Regions from separate parts of the Homo sapiens genome. Here region 2 is linked to region 1. Evidence: promoter capture Hi-C in human tissues and cell types (Jung and others, 2019). All regions are on one chromosome and are shown on one strand. The core of a region is centred on a gene start or on the middle of the fragment in contact, and the rest is flanking DNA. Distances in the headings are between cores, read along the strand shown.

Evidence for each region. Contacts are between HindIII fragments. The study calls those that stand out against the background at their distance.
Region 2: a contact is called between the fragment with the promoter of ATP1B4 here and the fragment with the promoter of RHOXF1 in region 1, in 1 of the 25 tissues and cell types used here (stomach).

The regions. Positions count from the first base shown.
Region 1 is chrX:120,112,927-120,119,329 of GRCh38, forward strand. It overlaps RHOXF1 (Rhox homeobox family member 1), which reads right to left and starts at 2,987. Exons shown (of 3, transcript NM_139282.3): 1 at 2,539-2,987. The coding sequence starts at 2,936. The region is part of intron 1 of RHOXF1-AS1 (RHOXF1 antisense RNA 1); the gene reads left to right. LINC01402 (long intergenic non-protein coding RNA 1402) reads right to left here. Exons shown (of 3, transcript NR_126557.1): 2 at 4,936-4,985; 3 at 4,716-4,783. The HindIII fragment of the contact is 14,045 bases long and covers 1-6,403 here.
Region 2 is chrX:120,358,574-120,364,976 of GRCh38, forward strand. It overlaps ATP1B4 (ATPase Na+/K+ transporting family member beta 4), which reads left to right and starts at 3,516. Exons shown (of 8, transcript NM_001142447.3): 1 at 3,516-3,658. The coding sequence starts at 3,596. The HindIII fragment of the contact is 10,002 bases long and covers 312-6,403 here.

The DNA.
Region 1 (6,403 bases), core at 1,737-4,236:
GATCACACATGGTTAGTATTCAAAGTTGTGGATGAAATGAAATATATAGTATGTACTATTTACTTCATGCTTGTTTTACAATTTATAATCTCCCCTCACACCTCCCCCAAGTATATACTTTTCTCTAATTCCCAGCTCCATGGTTGCTTTAGAAATGGTTTACCCTCATCACGAAATTTAAGGTGACGTTAACAACTCAGTAATCAAGAGAAATACCTTTTTTTTTTTAAATTGAGACAAGGTCTCACTCTGTCTCCTAGGCTGGAGTGCAGTGGTGTGATTTCAGCTCACTGCAACCTCCGCCTCCGGGGTTCAGACGATTCTCGTGCCTCAGCCTCCCGAGTAGCTGCGATTACAGGCACATACCACCATGCCCAGTTGATTTTTGTATTTTTAGTAGAGATGGGGTTTTGCCATGTTGGCCAGGCTGGTCTCGAACTCCTGCCCGTCTCAGCCTCCCAAAGTGCTGGGATTTGGGGCATGAACCACCGCACCCGGCCAAGATGAATAATTTAATGCATTATTATTATTTTTATTATTATTATTTGAGACAGGGTCTCACTGTCGTCTATGTTGGAGTGCAGTGGCAGGATCACTGCTCACTGCAGCCTGCATGTCCTGGGCTCGAACGATCCTCCTGCCTCAGCCTTCCAAGTGGCTGGGAGTACAGGCACACACCACCACACCCACATGGCTAATTTTTTAAGTTTTATTTAGAGACGGGGTTTTGCCATGTTGCCCAGGCTGTTCTTGAACTCCTGGACTCAAGCAACCTTCCCACCTTGGCCTCCCAAAAGCGCTGGAATTACAGGCCTGAGCCACCGTGCCTGGCCCTAATGCACTATTTTAATAAATAACAATTAATGCAAAAATCTGTGATGAGGACCAGGCACTGTGGCTCAGGCCTGTAATCCCAGCAGTTTGGGAGGCCGAGGCAGGCAAATTGCTTGAGCCCAGGAGTTTGAGACTAGCCTGGGCAACACGGCGAAACCTTATCTCTACACACAAAAAAAATACAAAAATTAGCCAGGTGTGGTGGCCTGTGCCTGCAGTCCCAGCTACTCAGGGGGCTGACACGGGAGGATGGCTTGAACCCAGGAAGCAAATGTTGCAGAGAGCTGAAATCGCACTGCTGCACTCCAACCTGGGCCACAGAGAGAGACTCTGTCTCAAGACAAAACAAAAAAACCAGAAAAACAAAAAACCAACCAAACAAACAAAAAAAAACTATGATGAACAAATTATCAAAATTTTAAATAAAGGAAGGATCTAGCACTGTAGTTGCATGACAGTACCTCATTCTCCTTACCCCAATTTCAATAAAATTTTATTTATAAAAACAGACCACAGCTGGGTGTGGTGGCTCACTCCTATAATCCCAGCAACTCAGGAGGCTGAGATGGGAGGATTGCTTGGGTGACAGATCCCCCACTCAACAAAAACAACAACAACAACAAAAACAGGCCATCATCACAGGTAATAAAAGAAAAAATACATAACTTGGACTATATCAAAATTTAAAACTTCTGTATATCAAAAGATGCAATGAACAGAGTAAAAAGACAACTCATAGAATGGAAGGAAATATTTGCAAATCACATCTGATAAGGGGTTAATATCCAGAGTGTATAAAGAACTCCTACAACCCAATAACCAAAAAAAAAGAAAGAAAGAAAGAAAAAGCCACTCAGATTTTAAAATGGGTAAAGGACTTAAAGAGATATTTCTCCAAAGAAGATATACAAGTGGCCACTAAGCACATGAAAGGATGCACAACATCACTAATCATTAGGGAAAAGCAAATCGAAACTACAATGAAGTATCACCTCACACCCATTAGGATGGCTATGTAAAAAACCCCAGAAAATAACAAGTGTTGGTGAGGATGTGGAGAAACTGGAACCCCCATGTACTGTTGGTGTGCACCTGTATCTATAAAATGGAATATTATTTAGCCTTAAAAAGGAAGGAAATTCTAATATATGCTGCGATATGGATGAACCTTGAAGACCTTATGCTAAGTGAAATAAGTCAGTGACAAAAATGCAAATACTGTATGATTCTACTTACATGAGATACCTAGAGTAGTCAAAATCATAGAGACATAAAATAGTAGAATGGTGGTTGCCAAGGGCTGGGGAAAGGGGGAAAAGGGGAGTTGCTTAACTGGTATAGAGACTTAGCTTGGCAAGATGAGAAGAATTCTAGAGATCTATTGCACAACAATGTGAACATACTTAACACAACTGAACTCTATACTTAAAAAGTGGTTTGGACGGTAAATTTCATATTTCCGTGTATTTTACCACATCTTTATAAAAGGGAGGCACGGACTAGTTTCCAGGTTTCATTCACATAAACATTGCAATAAAACATTTACCTTGATGCCCAGGAGGTAAATATCCCCCTCCACACCAGCACAAAGGCAGGCAAGGACCCCCAGTGGCTTTTTCCTCATGATTGGGTGGGGCAAGGGAGAGAAAAAGATGCCTCGAAACGAACTTGGAGATCTCGTGGCTCCTGGAGCAGGCCACTTACCTTGTGGGCACATCAGGGTATTGAGTGTGTCGGAAAACACTTTCCAGCTCCTCCACCTGCAACAGCGTGAACTTCGTGCGCCGAGTTCGTGGCTGCATGTTCTCGGGCTGCGGACCCTCCATGGCCGCCTGGGCCGGCTCCTCCGGCGGGGGCTGCGGCTGCTGCCGAGGCTCCTGGTTTCCACCGCCGCCCTCGGGGATCATGCCGCCATCGCGGTTCATGCCGTTCTCGTGGTTCACACCGCCCTCAGGGTTCATATTACCCATGAGGCCTGGAGCTCCTTGGCCAACATGGCCTTCTGCGCTTGATGCTGCCCCCAGCTGAGGTGTGGGGCTTATTTTTACCTGGTATACACTCAGGCAGTAGAACACGGTGTCGTGGACGAGCGAACGCGCCATGGCTGGAGCGCTGCGCCCCTGCACAAACTCCGTGGCGTCTGCAGCTGGAGTGGGGGTTAGAGGGTGGAGCTAGTTCCTGTTCTCATGCTTGGTATTGGTTACAGTTGCAATGAGTGGGACTTGCTTATGCGCACAAGCAAGAGAGGGAATGGAGAGGAGTGGGGGGATGGGAAGTTGGGGGGTGCGGGTGGGGAGTGGGGGTGTTGCAGGTGGGAGTGGGGGGTTGTGAGTGTGGGGTGGGGTGCAGGTGGGGATGGGGGTGTGGGTGGAGGGTGGGGGGTGCACAGTGAGGGTGGGGGTTGCGGGTGAGGGTAGGGGTTGTGGGTTGGGGTGGGGGTTGCCGGTGGGGGTACATGGTGGGGGTGGGGGTAGCGGGTGGAGATGGGAGGTGTGGGTGGAGGGTGCGTGGTGGGGGTAGGGGTTGTGGGTGGGGGTGAGGGGTGTGGTATGGGTCGTGGGTGGGGGTGGCAGTTGAGGGTGGAGTGGGGTGGCCAAAACACAGGGGCAGTGTGGAGAAGAAAAGGGCCAATAGGAGGCATATATGTATGCAACATGGGGCCCCAGCTTGCAGCTTTGCTGACTACACCCTACTCGGGCCTAGTTATTACCCTGAGGAAAGCTGATTTGGGGGCTCAGAGGGGAGGTGAGATCTCACGGTGACCATAGGACGCCTTGAGTAAAAGTTTGGAGAATATCTCATGGCCTGACCCTCCATATTTGGCAGCATGCACAGGGCGCGGGCTATTAATTAAGCAGAAATGATTGACTGGGGGCTGCTTGTTCAGAGTTCCAGCAAAGGCACTGAAAGCAGAGCTGCCATGCTCTCTTCAGTGCTGGGATCGGGATCTTGGAGATGGGCATGCAGAGCATTCTGGGTGGTAAGATGTGCTCTGCAAGAAATCTAACGCACCCTTTGAGAAAGTCAACACAGAATAAACACGAGGCTGAATCTGTTAGCCTGAGACTGAATATCTTTGGCTATGCAAGAGAAACCTGTACTCATGGCAAAATGGAGTGCTATAAGGACAAGCAAAAAATAAATAAATAAATAAAATCGGGGATGGTATAGGAAGAGCACCAGTAAGGGCATACCTGCCAAAAATCTCCAATCTTGGGATGGAGATTTGGGATTTAAGGATATGCAGCTTACTGGATGTGGGGCCACTTCTGCTCCACAGAGCCTTGTAACTACACAGCCTTCCTACCACTGACCCCAATAAGCCCAATTACGAAGAAAAACCCTGAAGAGCCTGGTGCAGTGGCTCCTGCACTAGTCCCAGCTACTCAGGAGGCTGAGATGGGAGGATCACTTGAACCCAGGAGTTTGAGGCTGTGGTGAGCTAGAATCACATGGCAGCACTCCAGCCTGGGCAACAGACAGAGGCCCCTTTTCTTTAAAATAAATAATAAAATAAGAAATAAAATGAAAATGAAAGAAAGGAAAGCGCTAAGAGAGTCTGTCATGAGGAAGGGCATGGAGATGTCTTTTGAGGGTGGACAACTCATGAATCCTTAATTTTTCTAGAGATTGTGTGTGTGCTCTTAAGTGATGTTATATACTTTATTTTGTTTTTTAAAAATATTTTTAAAAATTTTATTTTTAAATGTTCTTTTAAAAACTTTCTGTATCTATTTATATCTATTGGTTATTTGAGGTTTTTTTGGCAGCATATATAAATATGCAGACCCTTTGAGTCTGTAGCCTACCAAGAGAGATAGCTCTCGTCTTCATGGTGATTCTGAGCATGGAAAGGCCCTTGCACTTGGCAGCATGACAAGGACTAAGCCACTCGCTCCATTAATTGACTGCCATCCACTGGGCTAAGTGAGATCCTTGCGTTCTATCCCTAGTGAGAGAAGAGAGAGGAAGAAGAAGAAAAATAGAAAGATAATAAGAAAATAGAAAAAGAAATGAATAAATGTACATTGTGGGGAGCAGGAAAGGACTACCAGTAATGGGAGGCATCAGCTAGGAGCACAGATCCGAAGCATGACTCACTGTGTGTCCTAGGACACTGGATGAATCTATCTGGTTCTCAGCTTCCTCACCTATAAAATGGAGATAACAACAGTGTCTCGATCATAGGGTTTTCATGAGAGTTCAATGAGGCAAGGCATACATGTAACTGAACACAGCTCCGACTGCTCACCAGTTGCAAAGTCCAGTGAACAAGAACGACGTCTGGTAGAAAGAAAGTGGCTTTATTCCAGAGCTAGTTGAGGGGAAGTAGTACAGGCTGCCTTGAGGAAGCCACTAAAGCCTTTGGGGCAGAAGGCAGGAGCTTTGAAAGTGGGGCTTGGCGTGAATGGCATGCAGGGGAGAGGGCGATGAAGTGCAGAGTCTATGTGACTTGCTTCGGATGTCTTATCTATCAGGTGGTCTGGCTGGCACCGTCACGGGCAGAGCTAGGTTGTAAGTTGAGGCAATCTCAATTTGCCTCCTGGTAGGAGAGAGTTCTGGAGGTTCCTGGTTTGCTTTAAGGTTCGGTCTCTGTAACTTCTAAGTAAACATGTAGTTAGATAAGCTTGCTGTGTAGGGAGTGTCTGGTGGAGAGAAGGTAAAGTTTATAATTGCATTCCCAAAGAGCTAAGTAGGAGGTGTGAGGAAAGGAAAAAGGAAAAAATAATTCATTTGATTCTTTAAAAAAGAGGTACTTGGTTATATATAGACTGTTTTATTCTTTTTCTTCAACTCCAAATAGTCAATTTATCAGCAAATCCTGTTGACTCCGCCTCAGAAACACATTCCCAAACCTTTAATTTTTTTTCTCTGACATGCTTAAGATAATCTCTATCATCTTAAACCTGGGATATTGCATTAGTGTCCTGTCTCCCTGCTTTCACCTTTTTTCTCCTATAAACATTCTCCACCCAGCAGCCAGAGTGATCTGATGATGAAAATGTGAATTACACCATGGTGCCCCTGCTTATCACCTTCATACTGCTTGTTCTTGGGTTGGGTCCAGAGTAGGTACTTAATACATGGTAATGCTTATTACATTATTATTTGCTCTGGTATCTAGGAATAAGATATATTAGGCCAAGGAAGAAAATCTGTCTGCTGAGTGAAAGACACACTCTCCTGGCACATTTCCTGGCCCAGGGCTCATACATGCAGCAACCAACATAGGCTTATTGATGGAAGCACATATAGGTACATAGAAACATGGTACGTGTATTGTTTTCACAAGAAGATGCTCTATCTTTATTACATGCTGCCAGAGGAGAACAATCACTCTCTCTCCCTTGTGAATAAAAAAATATGAAAGTGAGTCAAGTAGGAAATGTGAGGCTGCATGGTCATTTGTGAAATTGTATAATTAAGCACCTCAATTAATCCTCAAAACACCTCTATGAATTAGGTATGATTGTTATCTCCATTTAAAAAATTATTAAACCAAGGCAAAATGAGAATAAACTGCTCACCAGATTAGCCAGCTAGCAAGTAGTGAGTGAAGCCATGATTC
Region 2 (6,403 bases), core at 2,266-4,765, 250 kb after region 1:
TACTGTGCTGCTCCTCCCTGACCACCAAGCAAGCAAAGGTTTCTGGGAGGCTGGGGCTCTGCCGGCCCACTGCAGTGCCATCACTCTGCTTGCCAAAACCATTTTAGGCAGCAGGTAAGTAAGTGGTTGGAGAGGTACATTGGGTTTCTGAGAGGCACCAGTCTAGCTAAGGCAGAAATAGGCTCTAACTTAATAATCTGCTCATCACACACAGTAAGAGACACCCTGACTTATTCAAAGACACCGTGGGCGGTGCAGAGGATGAATAAGCATGATTCACTGCCACTCTGGCACCCGGGGCACGAAGAATAATAAAACCCAAAGAATTGTAGCCGCCTGAGTAGTAAATTAAGAGATCCAGGGCTCAGCTAGACTCTAGACATCAATGTTACCATGGCAATAAAGGGCCCCAGCCTTCAGCAGCTATTACAGAGCAGGCATCTAATAGGCTAGTCTATGTCACAGCCAAAGCCCAAGGGGCTAGCAAAGAAGACCAATTAGCATATCCATTCATTAGGGGCCTCTGCACACTTCTCTTAATTCCAATTAGTTGTTTGTTTGAACCAATGTCTCTGGTCTGCATTATACTCATTACTGCCTTTTAGCCACTAGAAATAGGCTTGAATCTCCACAATGACCTCACAATTTCCCAAGCTTTCATTTTTCCCCTAGGGGTCTAGGCTTATACAGTCACAAACCCATGGCCCTCTGTCCTTTGAAATGAAAGCGTCTGTCACTGTACAACTGTACTTGACAGATGGAAACTCTGCTCAGGAATGTGATGCGCTAAGGGTTCTTCCTGGAACCTAGTGAAGTAGGGATCTGGGGCCATTATCTGGACCTTTCAGGTCAAGGAAACCCTCTGGCCTTAGCCAGTGAGCCTACTGGCTATGCCTGCTGGCCACTACTCAGAGGCTAGCTGTTCGGGAGGGGGAATTTTGGGCACTGGGGACCAGACTGGCATCATCAAAGTCAGGCAGTAACTGTTCCGACTTGAAGTCCTGCCCTTCAAGATCCAGCCCAAACCCCACCTTTTCCGGGAAGCCTTCCCTGATTATTGTAGCCCTAAGTGAATTCTCCCTCCTCCATGCACTTCAAAAATGACATTCTGTGCTGAGCAGCATACATGGGCAACCTCAGGCCCTAGCTTGGCCTGGAGCTTCCTTACCCAGTGACCTCAGAGTCCACAGGTCACTAATCTTGGAAGGGACTGGGGTTCTAGAGAGTATTCAACATTACTTGGGTGACTCCAATGGCAAACAACTCTTAAGCTCCACTGCACATTACCTCCCAGAGTCCCTGAAGACCTAACCAGTCCCTTGGTATGGAAAGTACACAACTGCTCTTTGACGGCTCTGGGACACATTGTGGCCACCCCACAACTTACACAACTGTGGAAATGGCCCACAAGAACAGATGTCATAAACTAGCCCATCTCGTGGTAAAGGCAAAGATTATCTGAAGGGTGCTACCATATCTTCCTTCCTTTGGGAACAGGGGGACCCAGCCCATAAGATTGTTTCTGTTCCCAGTTAGTTGCCATTGTCAGCCAACTCTGTGGTTTCACCACAGCAGGCACTCAGGACAAGGGGCTTATAGAAGCATTTGCTAATACCTGTGCCCAAGAAATGAGCATGTAGTTTTCTAGACTTTAATAATGTGCCCCCGAATCTGCTGTTATATTCAAAGTCTCTCCTTTCTCCCTCCCCTTGTCCCTTTGTAGCCACTGCTTCATTTGCATCCGCATTAGCCACTTGTGGCTCCATTCTGCTGCACTGTTAGGCATATTGCTTTTTTTTTTTTTTTTCAAATTTGGCAGGAATCATTTCCCTTCTAACTAGTGTTTTGAGTGTAAATTCATACAGATTTCTGTCTTCAACATCCTATGGGATTTGGTTATTTTACCCCACCCAACAGCTGACATTCCAGAACACAGCCTGGGCTATAGCTGAAATACATGGCAAATGTCTTAAGTATACATCAAACCTCCAATTACCCAGAATGCTTAGGAATGGAAGATTCTAGAGAATGGAGTATTTTGTTACCTAAGGTCATGTCACTCCTAACTCCCTTTTGTCCCCCTACTCTCAGTTTTTGAAATGTTTTAAAGTGAGTGTACTCTCTTTTCAGCCTTAGACCAGTTAGCCTAGCCATTGTTTGGTTTTAAGGCTTCCAAGGGCCTGGGGATTCTCATACTTAATGTAAGGAATCACACAAAAGACTGGCTTGGAGAAGGTGTAGAAGATAGAGATCAACATCTACTGAGACCAGAGACCAGATTATCCCCTAGAATATATTTTGCTTTTAATAAAATTCAAAGAGAAGAATAAGTTTCTCTTTTTTGTAAGTGGCCTTTTTCCCTTCAAAGAAGCATATGGGAAGAGACACTGTTAAAGAAGAGGTCTGATTAGTAACATTACAGTGAAAGGAATTCTTATTTAAAATTAACTGCAATTGAAGCCATTTTCATCAGAATAGCCTTGAATTGGAGTTATGATTAAATCTTTCTAAGCTATTGTGCTGTTTTTCTCAGTAATGAATGTGCCCAGAATGTCAGTATCTGCAACATTCTCAGCCACTTGAGTATAATGGGGTTTGATTTGTGAAGGAAGGATCACAAACTCCATCCAGGCCTTTTAGCCACCCAGGCTCCAGTAGGGTGGACCCCAAACAGACCAAAAATGCTATACAATATTCTTAACTGTTTCTTCTAATTTTTCCTTTCATTGGATCCCATGTTGGTTTCAGGAGTTACATATGTCTGGGAAACTGACACTGCAAAGTTCTGGCTTGTTCCCTGCCCTGATGCTAAGGGATAAATATAGATCTCAACCACTACAGAAATTTGGCCAGGATTTGGAGGGGTGTGTGTATGAGGGGCAGTGACTGATGGGGCCACTCTGACATGTGGGCTAGAAAAAGGCTTCCTTATGTCCAAGACCCTCTTTGGGGCAGGGAGGAATGAAGTAGGAGCCTGGCTTCTAAAATCAGAAAGAATAATCCACATTTTAAGAAGCTCATGGATTGACACAAATAAGAAATATTGTAGGTGGCTTACAGTGTGTGTGGGGGTGGGGGGAGAGAGCAAAGGGAATCTTTCCTGACATCCTAGATCCTTTTGCATGAGATCAGCCTTATGAAAAAAGCAAGTTATTCTTGGCCATCTCCCCTCACCCCCAACTCCCACCCACACCCACCCCCTGCATGCACTGATATCCAACTCTCAATTGAGAAGAACATGACTTAAGATTTCCATTGGGGCCATCATATCTCAAGCGCTGGAGAAAGACAAGGGGTGGAAAGACATATAAAGGGGGCGGGAGGGTGAGTTGCTCATCCTCGTGACCCAGAATATCTCCCCCTCCTTGTAATGATGAGCTTGCTTTTCCATAAGGGCTTTCCCTTGATTCAGGGAAGGAGCCAACCAATGACAGAGGGACATGTTAGATTATTCTGGGGAAGGGCTCATGCCAGGAGGGTTCACTTTTACCAGGCGCCAAGTGTCCCCAGCAACCAGTGTCTCCTGTACCAGCAGAAGCTCCAGAACTCTCACCCGATTGCCTGCCTCTGCTGCGTCTTTGCCCACTGAACAGCCATGAGAAGGCAACTCCGGTCCAGAAGGGCTCCATCCTTTCCTTACAGTTATCGCTACAGACTCGTGAGTGCCAGAGAGCAGAATATTTTGCTGCCCCCTCCCCTTTTATTTTAATGGGGTGGGTTGGGGGCTGTGTAGACCTTGGTTTACGGCTGCCTCTCTTTGAGACGGGCAGAAACAGCGAAGTTTAGGGGAGCCCAGGGTTTCAAAAAGGAGCAGTGACTCCCAGCACCCCCGGGCACCCTAAACTGCTGGATAAAAGGAGGAAGCCCCTCTTCCTGTGAAACAAAGATAAGGGAAGGAGAAGATAACAGAGAATAAGTGGCTTCTAAAATCTTTTCCTGGGAGTATAGAATTTTCACAGACCTTTTGGAGTATAAAAGTTTAATTCTAATAGCAAGAAATTTAGCCAAGAGGGAAGGAAGGAGGAAGAGGAAATGAAAGGCACTGCCTACCCAGCTGTCTCTTGGGTGGTAGCTTCTTAGAGTCCAGCTGCTCTCTTTCTAAAGTAGAAATTCCAAACTATAGCTAAAATCATAGAATCCCCAATAGGAGCAGGGAGGAATCCTAGACATTATCTCTCCAGAACCCCTCATTACCTAAAGGAGGCTGCTGTGGCTCAGAGTACAGGAGTGACTTGCAAGTTAGTGGAGGAGCCAAAGTGAAAATGCAATATCCTCACTGCTAATCTTGTACTCTTTCCATTGTATTTGCAGAATGCATCTTCCAAACCCCCGATCTGCCACTACCCATTGCCATCCTGACTGCCACCCCACACTGCCCAACATGTAGACACACATACATTCTTTTGTCTCATCATTTATTTCCAGGGTGTATTACAAATTATTTGATCCAAAAGTTTATTTGCATTTATTTTGCTATAAGTCATTAATGTATGCCACACGCAGTGCTTTTTGGGGAGAGGATTTTGAAATGTTCCCCAGAGAGGATTGTGATCTCAGCCCCAGGAGGAAACAAAGCCTAAGCCATTTTTCTTTGGGTATGGCCACTTATGTAACCAGGGAGTTAAGTGAAGACTGTCAACAGCCCGCAGAAGAAAACACACATTATTCTAACCTCCTATCAATCTACAGAGGGCTTCTCTTAGCTTTTTAGCCACAATTTGAAGAACCGTTTAACTTCCCCCAAAGTTTCTTCCAGCTCTCAAAACAGTTACAATCTGCAGGGGTATAAAACTATTTCTTACTTGCCTTCTTTTCTATGTAATCTTGTTAAAATGTTGTGTATAATTTCAGTTATTTGTTAAGTGGCTTGGATTTTAAATGCATCAGGGGATCTTGCTCTTTATAATACTTGACCAAATTTAAAAATAAATTAATGCAATCCTGTGCTAATTTCTCTTTTAAAATTAACCAGCCATTCAAATGTTTATGGTGTATAAACACATGCCTTGCTGTCTTCTTTGCAGAGCACAAATTTAAAATTTATCCTTTGGGTCATACTGTTTGTTTATATATTTGTTTATATGTTTATATATTTAGATTACTCAAAATGGAGCTACCCTCTGTTCTTCAGACTCTTCCCTTTCAGGGAAACCTGATGACCCCATCACACACCCACTACCATATCCCAGCACACTCACACACACTATCACATGAGGGTAGTGCCACTTTAGGAAAGTGACAAGACAGAATCTTAGGGATAAGCATTCTCATTACCAAAGGATTTTCTATTGGATTTTGTTAAATAGTTTCACAAAGATACATTTTACACAGGATTTAATTAATGAGGATCTTTTGGGGAAGGCCTCTCTTGCACAGTGTGACCATTTCCTTTACCTGGAAACAGAGGAGAGGAGAAAAGATTCGAGGTTCCTAAAGTAAAGCTCAGGAACCTCTCACAGCCTCTCGGGTGTGAGAGCTGTAGGGGCAAATTAGCCGTGAGAAGATTAATTCTTCTCAGGAGGGTAAAGCTTTAATGACAAGCCATCTGTAATGGGATTATCATGAGAGCCAATATCTACAAATAAGATCAGTCTGAGGCCTAGGCCAGCTGCCTCCTCTGTGGAAGGTTAAAGGCAGGCATAGGTAACATGGAGAGAAAAGAAAATTGTTCAGGAAATATAAAGGGAATATATATTTCTCCTCAATGAAATGTTATACTTCAAATTCACTGAGATTCTCAGGTGCAGTAGATTCTCTGGGGGCCATGATTGCTACCCACTGTGATATACATGACAGCTCAGTCAGGGTGACAAGCTCTGTGAGAGCATTCCCGCAGAGTCCTGCATCAGGAATTTTAAGTCAGGCAGGTATCACTGATATTTGGTTAGGACCCACTGGGTACTTAACTGTCAGCTTTACACTGTGGAGGGCCATCGAGAGGCTAGAAAATATGGAATCTCCCTCTGGGTGCTCAAAATGTAGTTTGGGAGTTTAAATGTGTGCATAGGTTCACACACAAGTGAAAGATATTTAAGAACAGGTATTAATCCATTCATCATTGAGTGATGAAGTTTATTTTCCTAAGCCTTACACTGTGAGCCTATGTCAGTCAGCCATCCTTGATTATAATAAGCACCTAAAATCTTTTTTTGTGTTTTTTTGAGACAATGTCTCACTCTGTCACCCAGGCTGGAGTACAGTGGCATGATCACAGCTCACTGCAGCCTTGACCTCCCAGGCTCAAGTGATCCTCCTGCCTCAGCCTCCTGAGTAGCTAGGACTACAGGTGCATGCCACCATGCCTGGTTAATTTTTTTTTAATTTTGTAGAGACAGGGTCTCACTATGTTGCTCAGGCTGTCATCAAACTCCTGGGTTCAAGTGATCCTCCTTTCTTGGCCTCC